Regions from separate parts of the Homo sapiens genome. Here regions 1 and 2 are each linked to region 3. The links are contacts of gene promoters, found by promoter capture Hi-C in blood cells and fetal thymus (Javierre and others, 2016). All regions are on one chromosome and are shown on one strand. The core of a region is centred on a gene start or on the middle of the fragment in contact, and the rest is flanking DNA. Distances in the headings are between cores, read along the strand shown.

Evidence for each region. Contacts are between HindIII fragments. The CHiCAGO score rates a contact against its expected background, and 5 or more counts as called.
Region 1: a contact is called between the fragment with the promoter of DIPK1A here and the fragment with the promoter of HS2ST1 in region 3, in 1 of 17 cell types (naive CD8 T cells). The highest score is 6.0, in naive CD8 T cells.
Region 2: the fragment with the promoter of RPL5 here is called in contact with the fragment with the promoter of HS2ST1 in region 3 in 2 of 17 cell types (total CD4 T cells and activated CD4 T cells); the score reaches 7.6 in total CD4 T cells.

Annotation. Positions count from the first base shown.
Region 1 is chr1:92,958,816-92,962,935 of GRCh38, forward strand. It overlaps DIPK1A (divergent protein kinase domain 1A), which reads right to left and starts at 2,647. Exons shown (of 5, transcript NM_001006605.5): 1 at 2,561-2,647. The coding sequence starts at 2,614. RefSeq lists silencers at 2,208-2,767, 2,928-3,007. The HindIII fragment of the contact is 1,943 bases long and covers 1,244-3,186 here.
Region 2 is chr1:92,828,558-92,833,289 of GRCh38, forward strand. RPL5 (ribosomal protein L5) reads left to right here and starts at 3,483. Exons shown (of 8, transcript NM_000969.5): 1 at 3,483-3,560. The coding sequence starts at 3,558. It also overlaps a transcript of DIPK1A not described here. RefSeq lists enhancers at 3,232-3,281, 3,285-3,923, 3,452-3,771, 3,924-4,561. The HindIII fragment of the contact is 14,223 bases long and covers 1-4,027 here.
Region 3 is chr1:86,911,318-86,915,884 of GRCh38, forward strand. It overlaps HS2ST1 (heparan sulfate 2-O-sulfotransferase 1), which reads left to right and starts at 3,318. Exons shown (of 7, transcript NM_012262.4): 1 at 3,318-3,843. The coding sequence starts at 3,720. SELENOF (selenoprotein F) reads right to left here and starts at 2,809. Exons shown (of 5, transcript NM_004261.5): 1 at 2,711-2,809. The coding sequence starts at 2,794. RefSeq lists enhancers at 2,106-2,720, 2,569-2,618, 2,721-3,335, 2,729-2,888, 2,939-3,058. The HindIII fragment of the contact is 1,083 bases long and covers 2,937-4,019 here.

The DNA.
Region 1 (4,120 bases), core at 1,397-3,896, 6.0 Mb after region 3:
TAGTTAGTAATCTCAGGTTGATGCATATCTAGAAAGGGGTGGGAAAAATAAATTGTTATTAACTTTGTTAGGCATGATAATGGTATTATGATTATGTCTGAAAATATCTTTATCTATTAGAAATGTATATTGAGGTACTGAGATGAAATGATGTGATGCCTGAGGTTTACTTTAAAATACTTTGGTTCAGCCAGGCTTGATGGCTCATGCCTGTAATCCCATCACTTTGGGAGGTCAAGGCAGGAGGACTGCTTGAGCCCAGGAGTTTGAGACTAGCCTGGGCAACACGGCGAAACTCCGTGTCTACAAAAATTAAAAAAATTAGCTGGGCATGGTGGTGTGCGCCTGTAGTCCCAGCTTCTCAGGAGGCTGAGGTGAAAGGATTACCTGAGCCTGGAAAGTCCAGGCTGCAGTGAGCCCAGATGGCACCACTGCACTCCAGCCTGGGCAACAGAAGGAGACCCGTCTCTAAATAAATAAATAAATGAATAAATAAATAAATAAGTTTGGTTGGAAGAGGGAGTGGGGGAGGTGAAATGAAATAAAATACTGATGAGGGTGGCTGATGGGCATATGACAGTTCATTATTGTTTTCTGTTTTCTGAAGGTATACAAATTTCCACAGTAAAACACTTTTTTTTTTTTTTTTTTTTTGAGACGGAGTCGCACTCTGTCGCCCAGGCTGGAATGCAGTGGCACGATCACGGCTCACCACAAGCTCTGCCTCCCAAGTTCACGCCATTCTCCTGCCTCAGCCTCCCGAGTAGCTGGGACTACAGGCGCCCGCCACCACGCCCGGCTAATATTTTGTATTTTTAGTAGAGACGGGGTTTCACCGTGTTAGCCAGGATGGTCTCGATCTCCTGACCTCGTGATCCGCCCGCCTCGGCCTCCCAAAGTGCATGAGCCACTGCGCCTGGCCGTTTTTTTGTTTTTGTTTTTGTTTTTAAGAGGCAAGGTCTCACTCTGTTGCCCAGGCTGGAGTGCAGTGGCGTGATCTCAGCTCACTGCAATCTCCGCTCCGGGGCTCAAGCCATACTCCCACTTCAGCCTCCCGGAGTAGCTGGGACCACAGGCACCCAACCAACTTTTTTTTTTTTTTTTTTTTTTTTGTATTTTTAGTAGAGGCGGGGTTTCACAATGTTGCCCAGGCTGGTCTCAAACTCCAGAGCTCAAGGAATCAGCCCGCCTCGGCCTCCCAAGTGCCGGGATTACACGTGTGAGCCATCGCGCCTGGCCGGTAAGCTTTTTTTTAAACTCACATAAAAGATTACACAGAGGTACCTGGCCTGGGTTGAATTCTAGAAGGGGTTGTGACAGTGTTACTCAAGTGCACAATTACTATTGGTGGTGCTTGCTACAAAGACTCAGTTTTATTCGTACACGCTTAATATCATGGGTTGTCAAATCATGCTTCCAATTTGCAATACGTCACTCATTTCAGGGTAATGACTTACACATACAATTTTCAAACAAAAATGTAAGATTTACTTGCCTCATGATGGTTACCTTCTCAACTTTTTTCATAATTTATAAAAGCACCAGCTGACCCCAAATCATCTACCTCTTGGCCTTTTAATGTAAGCGGTAAAGGAATACTGTCCTCTGAATGCAGCGTTGGCTAACACTGCTGACCCACGCAAGGCATTGATTTGTAGTTGTTTTTCCATCGGAGTGATGGATTTGCGCTCAGCTACTCGCGGTGTCTACTAGGTCCCCCTGGTGACCAAACAGTACACTTAGGCAGTAGTAGGGTTCCAAGGCACAGACTGGCAGCGGAACAGAGGGTGGAACGGGAAATCATGAAAAATTAACACGCGAACCGTACACACGACATGACTGAGAATTACGTTTGCATTACTAGGGTATTTGGGATCCACAGACCAGCCACTAGCCCCTTTCCTTTAAAAAGCAAACACCCATCCGCCTGGTTCAGGCTTATCGGTCTCCACCTCCCATTTAAATCTTGGGTGTGATGGAACGACCCAACCAAGGGGCTCGGCACGAGGCACACGCTGCTTTTTGGAGCCTGGGGAAACACTGGTGTGACAAATTGTCATAATTTTCTAAGACACGGAGGAATGCTACACCACCTTTCCTACCACCGACTTAAGACCCAAGACACTGAGTCAAGGGCAACCGACCTGCGGGGGCCCACGGGGGAGGGGGGAAAGCCCCGAAAACACCAGGGAGAAGGCGGCCCGTCGAGCTCCGCCTGGAGCGGCGCAGGGCTGCGGGCAATGCCCGGAGCGCGGGGTCGTACCCAGGTCACGTCTCGGGGCTCTCAGGATGCGAGGGCGTACCCGGGCGGGACGACTCGGGCCCTGGAGCCCGGCTGGCCGCGGCGCGGGAGCCGCGAGGGCCGCGGTGGGGGGCGTCGGCAGAGCCGCTGAGGGGGCTGGGGAGGGCGCGCCGCCAGGTGCCGGACGGCAGGGGGCAGCGGGGTTCGGGCGGGCACAGACCCAGGGAGGGAGGAGGGGAGCGGGCGAGTCCTGCGCGGCGCGGCAGGGCACACGGCCGGGTGCTCCCGCAGCTGGTGGCTGGGCGGCCGCCGGCCTACCTGGAGGTAATAGGGTTTCCTTAGCCAGGCCCCCGGACAGAGACTCCTCGCCATGGTAATCACACATCGCCCCGCCGCGCTGCAGTCAGAGGCGGACCCGAGCGCTGGCGGCCGGGCTCCCCGCCTCCCCCCGCCTCCCCGCCCCCTGCCCGGCCGGGCCCGCCCACTCCCCCGCCCCCGCCGCGGCGCGCGCCGCGCTCCCCTCGGCCCGGCTGCAGTGAAGGCGGCGAGAGGCCAGAGGCCCAGCCTCCTGCCCTGTTCGCCCGCCGGCCGCCGCGGCTGTCAGAGAGGCTGCTGCCGACTCCGCCATAAAGGGGAGTCGCACCTCGCCTCCGCCGACACAAATCGACTGCGCCTGGAGCTTAAAGGGGAGGCGCGCGGAGGCGGGAGGGGGCGCCGCGGCAGCGGGGGTGTCGCACGCTCGGCGCGGATTGGGGCGTGCTTCTCGCTGGCTGATGCGGCGACCCCCGGACCGCGCTGGCCTCGCAGTCTGCTCCGGCTTCCGGCTCCCCGCGCTGCGCCCAGCTGCGCGTCCCGCCACCCGCCCCGGCAGCACCGACGCTCCCCATGGACTCTTCTCCTGGAGTCAGGACGTGTCTGGACGGGTTGTTTGGAAATTCAAGGGAAGCTTGGGGCTCCTTCCCTGGGGACTGGCTCGTCCTCCCTCGCCCTTGGTGGCGGTCGGGGGAAGGGGGTGTCTGCCGCAGCTGGAGACGCAGACCGGGGCATCCCCCCAGGACTGGGCTCAGCTTCGAACGCGGACAGGGCGCCCCACTGCTGAACTCGGTGCCCCCCTTACCACGCTCCAGTTCGCCTCTAACGGCCTACAACTTTTTTTAAAAATGTACTTTTAAAAAATTCCGACTTTTTTGGTTTATATTGTTTTTAAGACAGCTTCAGAGTTTTCCTGGCCCCGTCCAGGAACACTGATTTCAAAAGAAAACAAAAACAAAAACACCGAATTAAATACAGTCCTGAAGGCAGGGAGCCTGGGACGTGGCCTGCTGCTTGGTTAAGGCTACATAACACAGGGTGTGGTGTCTTTCTTTTGACAATGAGTTCCAAATAAGGGAAAAAAGAGCCACCCTAGTGGGAGAACAGCTGTTGATCCAAGTGACTTGTAATGGAAGAAGCAGCTTTTTTTTTTTTTTTTTTTTTTTTGGCTGCTTTTTACCCCACCTACCACGTTTAAGCGTGATGCTAACAAAGTTTAGGTGGCCCGTTAGAGCTCATTCCGGCCTGTTGCTCTGAGAAGGGGTTTCCCCAGAAGCAAACCATTACTCATTCTCACTTGGTTTTTGCATAAGCCTTGTTCAGGTGCCTTGTTCTGAAGAGATACCTTCATGTCTGCCCCTTCCCTCAACCCACACACAGACACAGGTTTTAAACCTAGGTGATTTTTGTTGTGGTGGTTGTTCTTTCTGTTTTTGAGAGGGGTCTTACCATGTTGCCTAGGCTGGACTCAAACTCCTGGGCTGAAGCCATCCTCCCATGTAGCTGGAACTACAGCTACTTGGTCTTATTTTATTGCTTGCAGATAAACCAATTTTTCATTGATTT
Region 2 (4,732 bases), core at 2,233-4,732, 5.9 Mb after region 3:
TTCACCATATTGGCCAGGCTGGTCTCGAACTCCTGACCTTGTGATCTGCCCGCGTGGGCCTCCCAAAGTGCTGGGATTACAGGCGTGAGCCACTGTGCCCAGCCAAATCTGAGTTCACTTTCATTTCAAATAATAAAAGCTATATTCTAGAAGGAATAATAAATAACAAATAGCTCCCATTCTAGCGCAGGTTTTTTGTTTTTTGGTTTTACAAGACAGGGTCTTACTGTATCACCCAGGCTGGAGTGCAGTGGCAAGATCATGACCCGCTGTAATCTCTGCCTCCTGGGCTCATGTGATCCTGCCGCTTCAGCCTCCCGAGTAGCTGGGACCACAGGCACGTACCACCACGCCCAGCTACAATTTTTATTTTTTGTAGAGATGAGGAGTTGTCATGTTGCCCAGGCTGGTCTCAAACTCCTGACTTCAAGTGATCCACCTGCTTAGGCTTCCCAAAGTCCTGGGATTACAGGGGTGAGCCATGACACCCAGCCAATGTTTTGTTTTTTATTTTGAAATAATTTCAAAACCACTGCTTGGGTTAAGAACCGTACAAAGAATTTCCATATACTCTTCTCCCAAGTTCCCCACTGTCACCATTTTAACACATTTTTGCCTTATTAATCTCTCTCTTTACATGCACATATATGTGTATGTATATACACACATGTAATTTTCTTCCTAAGCCATTTACTGGGACCAAGTTGCAGAAATAATGCCCACTACTCCAAAATAGTTCAGTGTGTATTACCTTAAAAAAAAAAAAGAACTCTCATTCATAACCAGTCTACCTATGAAAATCAGAATTTAGCCAGGCTTGGTGGCTCACACCTGTAATCCCAGCACTTTGGGAGGCCAAGGTGGGGGGTGGATCATCTGAGGTCAGGAGTTCGAGACCAGCCTGATCAATATGGAGAAACCCCGTCTCTACTAAAAATACAAAATTAGCCGGGCATAGTGGCACATGCCTGTAATCCTAGCTACTCGGGAGGCTGAGGCAGGAGAATCGCTTGAACCCAGGAGGCAGAGGTTGTGGTGAGCCGAGATTGCGCCATTGCACTCCAGCCTCAGCAACAAGAGCGAAACTCCATCTCAAAAAAAAATCAGAATTTAACATTGATTCATTACTATCACCTAATCCAGACTTCAGTAAAGTTTCACCGATTGTTCTGACAATGTCCTTTGAACAAAAGAAATACAAAGACTTCTTATTTCCCTTTTTCCTTTCTTGTCCAGGATGCAATATGGAATCACACATTGCATACAGTTGTCATGTCACTTTGGTCTCTTTCAGTCTGGAATATTGTTTAGGCTTTCCTTATCTTTCATGATCTTGTCATTTTTGAAGAGTACAGGCCAGTTACTTTGTAGAATTATCTAAATCTGGATTTACGTGTAGTTTCATCATGATTAGATTTGGTTGGTACATATTAGATAACTATTTTAGATTAGATTATGTAAATTTGGTAGGAAGTGTTTTGTGTTCTTCTCAGTGCATCAGGAGGCATATAATGTTAATTTATTTTTTCTTTGCTTTCCTTTTTCTTTTTCCCTAGAGATAGAGGTCTTCTTATGTGCCCAGGCTGGTCTCGAACTCCTGGGCTGAAGTGATCCTCCTGGCTCAGCCTCCCAAAATGTTGGGATTACAGGTGTGAACCTATAATGTTAATTCATCCCACTATTGGTGGTTTTTTAACTTTTACCACTTGAATAAGATGCTGTTGGCTGAGGATGCTGGACAATTACCCCCTAGCTCCTGGTGTCACCAACTGCACTGGCTGAACCAGCCATGCTAGCCACAGACCCCTGACTGTGACCAAGGGGAATAGGTATACATATTTTTAATTTTCTTGTTATGGATTTATAAGGTAAGAAGGAGAGGGATAAGGATGATAAAGTATATTTAATTTAACATGTTGTTTGTTTCATAACTTCTTTTTTTGGATTTTATTTTTTATAGAGACAGGGGCTCACCAAGTCTCCCAGGCTGGTCCCGAACTCCTGGGTTTAAGTGATCCTCCTGCCTTGGCCTCCCAAAATGCTGGGATTACAGGCCTGAGCCAGCACATCCAGCCTGCTTCATGACTTCTTTCTTTTTTTTTTTTTTTGAGACGGAGTCTCACTGTCGCCAGGCTGGAGTGCAGTGGTGTGATCTCGGCTCACTGCAACCTCTGCCTCCTGGGTTCAAGCGATTCTCCTGTCTCAGTCTCCCGAGTAGCTGGGACTACAGGTGCGTGCCACCATGCCCGGCTGGTTTTTGTATTTTTAGCAGAGATGGGGTTTCACCATGTTGTCCAGGATGGTCTCGATCTCTTGACCTCGCGATCCGCCTGCCTCGGCCTCCCAAAGCGCTGGGATTACAGGCGTGACCCACCGCACCTGGCCTGAGCTACCGTGCCCGGCCCACAACTTCTAAATATTCAGATGAATAGTATGTGGGTCTTCCTATGAACCCTTGCCCTAAAACATGCAGAAGTTAGGAGTCGGCCTGTTTCCAGGCAGACTTTCCTTCCTGATGCTTTTGCCTCCAGTGTAAGCAGGGCCTGACCAAGACATGGAGCACCTTTGGTAGGCTAATAACTTGATAATCCACCAAAATGAAGGTTTTTAAATATTTTCTATAAATACGAATTGAATACCTCTTTCTTTACCCTTTCAAAGGTGGCTCCACAAAAGTAGAATCACACTTCCTGTGAAAAGTGTTTTAAGTTTTCTCCTCTAGAGCTCTGTTGACATCGGCCATAGCGAACTCTGTTTATTTTTCCTATTATATAAGGAATTACAAGTTGGAATCAGAAGTAATTGGCATCCTAATCCTGATTTATTCTAGTGGCAGTGTTTTGGAGTCACTTAACCCTGTCATCCTGGTTGGCCGTCCCTTCTCCCAGCTCTAACGGTGAGCAGCTGATACCCTGCTAGGTGCTGGAGAGTCAGAGGTGGACATCAGGGCCCACCTCGAAAAGTTGACAGTCTGTGGTGGGCTGAAGCCAGTAGAAAGCTGCTGTAGGAAGGCAGAGGAGTGGCCCCTATCCCAGGCTTGGGGCTCTCAGGGAAGGCTTCCTGGGGGTGAGATGGGAGGGTGGGTCCATATGCTCTTGGACCAGAATGAGTAGCCCAGAGAAGGCAAGAGGGCTCCCAAGCAAACTTGTCCTATTTAATTTTTTTTTTTTTTCCTGCTTAGAAAAGCAAAATGCGTTATGAACAAAACAAAACAAAACAAAACAAAACAAAACAAAACAAAACAAAACAAAACGCTGTAGCAAAGAAAGCGAAAGGCTCCAGTAATCCTCCCTGCTCCTCCTCACCGCACGGATCCTGTGAGATACCCCGAGCATTGGAACCTGGAGAGCTTGGGCAGGCATTCACCCTCCTTCCAGCAGGGGGCGGAACGTAAAACGCCTTGTGGCCGACGCCCTCTCTCTTTCACACGTCACTGGCGTGACCGTCCGCGCTACATACTGCGCCTGCGCAAGGGCTGTGGCCCTTTTCCCACCCCCTAGCGCCGCTGGGCCTGCAGGTCTCTGTCGAGCAGCGGACGCCGGTCTCTGTTCCGCAGGATGGTGAGTGGATGCCTCGGTCTCGGGGCTTTAGATGCATGGAGGTTCCCTTTTCTTGCCCGTATGCCAGCCTAGGGCCCGTCTCGCGCGTCGCAGGGGCCGGATGGCGTTAGATTGCTAGCTCTGACTTGGTCGAGGTGCAGTTCCCAGCGTGGCCTTAAATGGCTGCCGCCCGGTGCGCGAACTTGGGGGGAGGGGTTGGCGAAGAAGGGTTGCGTGAGCTTGGACGGCGGATTGGGGAGAAGGGTGAGTTTAGTAGACAGCCTGAGTGCGGATACTGCCGTCTAGTGTGAGGGGGCGCTGGCAAGCGGCCGGGCGTGAGAGGTCGCAAGCAGTCGACCTCAGCCTAGCTGGGGAACGCCAGAATGGAGGGGGGCTGCAGGTCCTCGGGTCCCACTCGACCTCCGAGTACCGAGTACTTCGTGGGTTTTCCAGGAGAATGTCGGAGCCGGCAAGTCTTAGATTTAGGAAGCTTGTGCCCGTGGGCTGAGCAAGTGGCTTTTAAGCCAAAATTGTCAGTGGAGCTTGGAGGCCGAGGGGTCCCTGGGCCCCGGAAGCTCCTTTAACATGGAATACGTGCCTCCTGCCTCTTCCTCTAGAGTCCGTCGCCGGATGAGTTTTTAATTATTGGGGTAGGGCCCCAAGGGTGGGATGAAATGTTGCTTTAGCTGATGGGGAACAGTGCTGTTTTAGTGGGGGAATTACTGCTGAATGTGCTCTTGCCCAGTTAAGCTTTGTGGCAGGTAATTTAGGCTTTTGAAAAACATAACATGGGAAGCGAGAGAGGTACGTAGTTGTTATTTGAGGCTAGGTTTTCGAAGTGGGACATAGCGTGTTCCGAACAAACCGACGTTTGGCATCACTGATTGCTGTCTGGAGCAGTGCTTCGCAAAAGTTTGGCACAATTACCGGTGCTGGTCCTTGAAGAAACAAATATGGAAATTGAAAGCGTTTAAAACCTTTTGAAAGCAATATAACAATAATTTTATACCTGTTAAATGTAATAAATTGGGGCCTGCATTTTGTATGTTTCTTTTATTCCATATTTCTCTAAGGATTCATTTTTATTGTTTTATGAAACTACTAGTCTGTGACATGGAAGGTAGAGGAAAAAGATTCTTGACCCTAGTTGCTTGTGAAACCTGGGATTCTACAAGTGACAGTTGTCTGTTTAC
Region 3 (4,567 bases), core at 2,068-4,567:
CGGCTTGTAGGTAATGAAAACACCATGCTCAAAGGTCTGGTGAGGGAGAATACAGTATGTGAAATAAGCTAAACAAGTGATGCCAATTCTCCACTTGTACCTTTCTGCTCTCCTAATAGAAGTAAATGTTGGGGAATAAGCCTGGATAGACAAACAAGTGCCTCCTTAAGGAACATTGAGGAAGACAGACTTCACCTTAAAAAACAATAAGCAGCCACTGAAGAGTTTTAATCATGACAGATTTAAATTTTAGGCAGATCACTTGATGCACTGTAGAGATTGGAAATGAAATAATGAGATGGGAGACTAGTTAAGGAAGCTGTTGTAATTCTAGGCAAAGATAGTAGCCTGAATATAAATACTAACTGTGGAAACAAAATTATTAAGTGGACTGGCTTAGAGATTTTTAAGGCTTTAACGACTAATTGAATTCAGACAGTGAAAGGAAAGAGGATTTAAAATGACTATTTTTTTTTTTTTTTTTGAGACAGAGTCCTGCTCTGTTACCCAGACTGGAGTGCAATGGTGCAATCTCGGCTCAGTGCAACCTCCGCCTCCTGGGTTCAAGTGATTCTCCTGCCTCAGCCTCCCGAGTAGGCATGCGCCACCACGCCCAGCTAATTTTTATATTTTTACTAGAGACGGGGTTTCACCGTGTTGGCCAGACTAGTCTTGAACTCCTGACCTCAGGTGATTTGCCCACCTCAGCCTCCCAAAGTGCACTGGAATGAGCCACCACAACTGGCCAAAAATGACTAATTTTTGGCTTGGGCAATTGGGAAGCTGACAAAGGCAAAGCCAACCATTTAGATTCTGAATACAGCCAGGGATAATTCAAACGGTGAACCAAGACGCTGTTATTTCTGAGGAGAGAGATGTTTATGGCCTGAGTGATTAACAATAAGTGGATGGATTTGAGATACTTAGGAATTAAAATCAGTAAGTTTCAGTAATTCCCTGGATATGATATATGTAAGGAAAGGAGTCAAACATGACATCCAAATTTCTAGTTTGGATTCTGTGCACAGTCACTGTGGTACGCTGTTTAATTAATTCCTATCATTATTACATATGGAATTAGTTAATTCCATAAATACCTCCTATCCTGGTATGCACACTTTGCAAAGTGACTCTGTCATTCCTCCCATGTAGAGATGAAATCTATTTCTCCATCCCTGAATGTGAACTAGTCTTGTGACTTGCTTTGAGAAATATGTGATGGAAGTAATATATGTGATTTCCAAGGCAAGGCTTTAGAAGGCATTGTAGCTTTTGCTCTTTTGGAGTGCTGCCCTGAGAGTGCCATGAAAAGAAGTTGGTCTAGCCGACTGGAGGATGAGAGGTCACACGGAACAGAACCAAGTCCTCGAGCTGACAGCACCAACTATAAACAGTGGTAATCCTGGAACCTTTCGGTTTAGCTGACCTACTAGGTCAACAAAAAGCATAAATGAGGCCAGGGGAAAACCAACATAGGTGGAGTAGTTCTACTCCACTGACCCAGAATTATGAGAAATCATTGCTGTTTTAAGCTACTAGGTTTTAGGGCGGTTACACAGCTATAGACAACTGACAGTCAAAGACAGAGGGAGATCAAAAAAAGACAACCTGAAATGTTATCTCGAATGACCTAAAGATGTGCAAAAACCCTTAAACAGTAGAAAGTTTAGGGAGAGGTGATCCAGTAATTCCTAGCACCAAATGCCTGAATAACAAGATAATTGGAATGTTAATTACAGAAGTTAAGAATCTACCTTTTGGTTAAAGTAGCCAAAGCAAACAGCCAGGATGCTTTCAAGCTCTTTGAGAAAGGTAAGTACAGGTGTTCATAGAGGACTCCGGTGTAGTCCCTTAACACCCTCAACCTTGGATAAGTAAATTAAACCAGGTCTCCTTATTAGAGACTACCCGAAGAATTAAGCTAGGATAAAAAAACGTAAAAGCTTTCAGCACTGTGCCTAAAATTTTACTATTCACACAGCAGAACATGGATATGAGAAGAAATAAGTTAAAAGTACACTTTTCCCATTCAAAGGTCACCCATCTATTCTGCCAATAGAGAAAAATGAAATAAAAAACGCTGCCTTAAAGAAGACAACGAACATCATTTAAAAAACTAACTTCAAAAATGAATTATACTTTGGTATAGATAACTCCTTTTACTCCAACAACATTGTTTAAAAGCACAAATCGCACTCAAGCGCAGCCAGCCGTATATGAATAGCAGAGGAGAACGGAAGTTAAGAGACTAACAGAAGTAGTGAAAATGAGAGAGCACGCGCGCGAGAGAGGTAAACACAAACTGTTCGCCTGGACCAACGACTTGAAGACTTGCCTCTAAGAGTTGGAAGTCTCGTCATGAGTCTCTTGCATTTCTGTCCATTTAAAAACAACCTCCACTTCTTGCCAAGCTTTATTATTCCCCCCTCCCACCTGGTGTGGTTTACAGATTGTTTTTAGCAAGAGCCGTATAAGAGAAGCTACGTACCCAAGACAATCTGAAATCAAGAGAAAACTGCTGCTAGAAACCCAAGGCGGGGAAGGAGAAGGATCAACCGAGAAATTAAGCCACGTTGCATTCTGGCCGCAGCAGTCATTAAGGAAGCGCAGTCCTCCCCACCCTTTTCAACCAGGACCGAATGTTGCGTCTTTCTCAGCTGCAATCACTCCTACTCTCCCTGTGGCAGCTGCGAAGGTGATCTACACTCACCGCTTGAAGCACAGTCGCCAACAACAACCGTAGCCCAAACGCCGGCACCAGACACCCACTCGGCCCAGCCGCCATCGCTACCATTTTCCGCAGGTTTCTGGCTGCCTAGAAGGACCCCTAAGCTAGGGGCGTCCACTCCAGAGCCTGATCCAAAACAGAACGCTAACGGCCGTTGCCCTTACATCTCTCATTTGGAAGTGACAGGTATTAAATAACGGCATATGAAAGCTTAAAAGTCATCAAATACAATCACTGGGTGCTTTCGATTACCCAAATCAGGCACTTGCCTAAACTCCCCACTTCTTTACTTCTGCGGTCTCCTTTCTTTTATTCACGACACTTCGTCAAGCAGCCAAGAAGCCACGCCTTCGCCAGTTTTAGCCCCGCCTTCTTCTCCAAGTTTACCCAATTGAATGTCGTCTTGATTGAGCTCTGTGGCAGAGGAAACCAACCGTAAACCGAACCAAGAGCGAAGCGCAGGGGCTCTTCCGTCCAATAAGCGGACCCGAACGGGGGGAGGGGCGGGGCTTCTGGTTGCCGAGCAGCGTACGCGGATGCGTGCGCGTGGTGGCGGAGGGGGATGGGCGGGGGCGGGGATGAGGGCGGCGCAGCCGCAGCGCCGGTGGAGGGGCGCGCGGCCGCGAGCAAAGGAGGGAGGGAAGGAAGGAAGAGAGGGAGGCGGGCAAGCAGGCGGGCGCGGGGGTCGGGGACTGAGGCAGTAGAGGGAGGCGAGAGCCCGGCAGCCGCTTCGCGCTGTTTGCTGCGCGGGCTTTTGGAGGGGGCGGCCGTTTAGTCGGCTGAGGAGAAGCGGACACCAGCGGCGTTGGTGATAGCGCCTGGGGGAGGGGGACTGGAGAGGCGAGAAGGGGGGTCGCTGCGGTGGTTCTCTCGCTGTCGCTCTCTCTTTGCCTCGCTCCCGGCTCGGCGGGCTCCTCCCGGCGTCTCTCTCGCCTCCGGGGTCCCGCTCCCCGCCCCCCGCGGTATGTCTTGATCCCGAGCAGCGGGTTTCATGGGGCTCCTCAGGATTATGATGCCGCCCAAGTTGCAGCTGCTGGCGGTGGTGGCCTTCGCGGTGGCGATGCTCTTCTTGGAAAACCAGATCCAGAAACTGGAGGAGTCCCGCTCGAAGCTAGGTGAGGAACTGAACTGCCCCGGGCTGAGTGCTGTGGAAGGGGCCGAGGAGGCGCTGCCGCCGGAGCAAGTGGGCGTTCATCTAACCTGGGGTCTGGCTCGGGGGCTGAAAGCGGTTTCAAAGAGAACCGGGAACAAGGGGCAGCGAGAGCACGAGCTCCAAGAATGGGTTGAATTAAGCTTGAGCGGCGTGCTGGGCTCGCGAGGTCACGGGGCAGAGGTTGCAAGGTTGGGCTTCCCTAGCCAAAGGGTAGCCCCGAAGTAGGCATTCCGCGGAGAGAGAGCGAGAGAGAAGACCGAACTCAGTGGGGAGCGTGTGTTGCTGGTCTCCGGAGACAGAAGCGCTTAGCATCGCGTGTTCTCTTGGAAGTCGTACAGGAAGCCCTGGCAATGTCAGATGAGGGGTATTCTAATTTGAGCTATGGGCATCTGGATACGAATTCTTTTGGGGGCTCATGAAGGGATAGGTGCGCAGAAATGGGAGGAGATGCTGGGATGACGGAGAGCAACATGTGAACACTGTAGCGAGTTGCACTCTTGTGCTCCGGGCAGCAAAGGACCTTGTAATTGCCAGCTGAGGGAGGCTGGCCGGGTAGTGCGGGAACGCGAGTGCAAAGCTTCATCGGAGTACGGAAATGAGGGTCCGGAGATTTAAATTCTTCTTTAGTGGCGCTAAACTGATGAATTGGGGCTTGAGAATAGGGATGCCTATGTATGTTGCTTCAC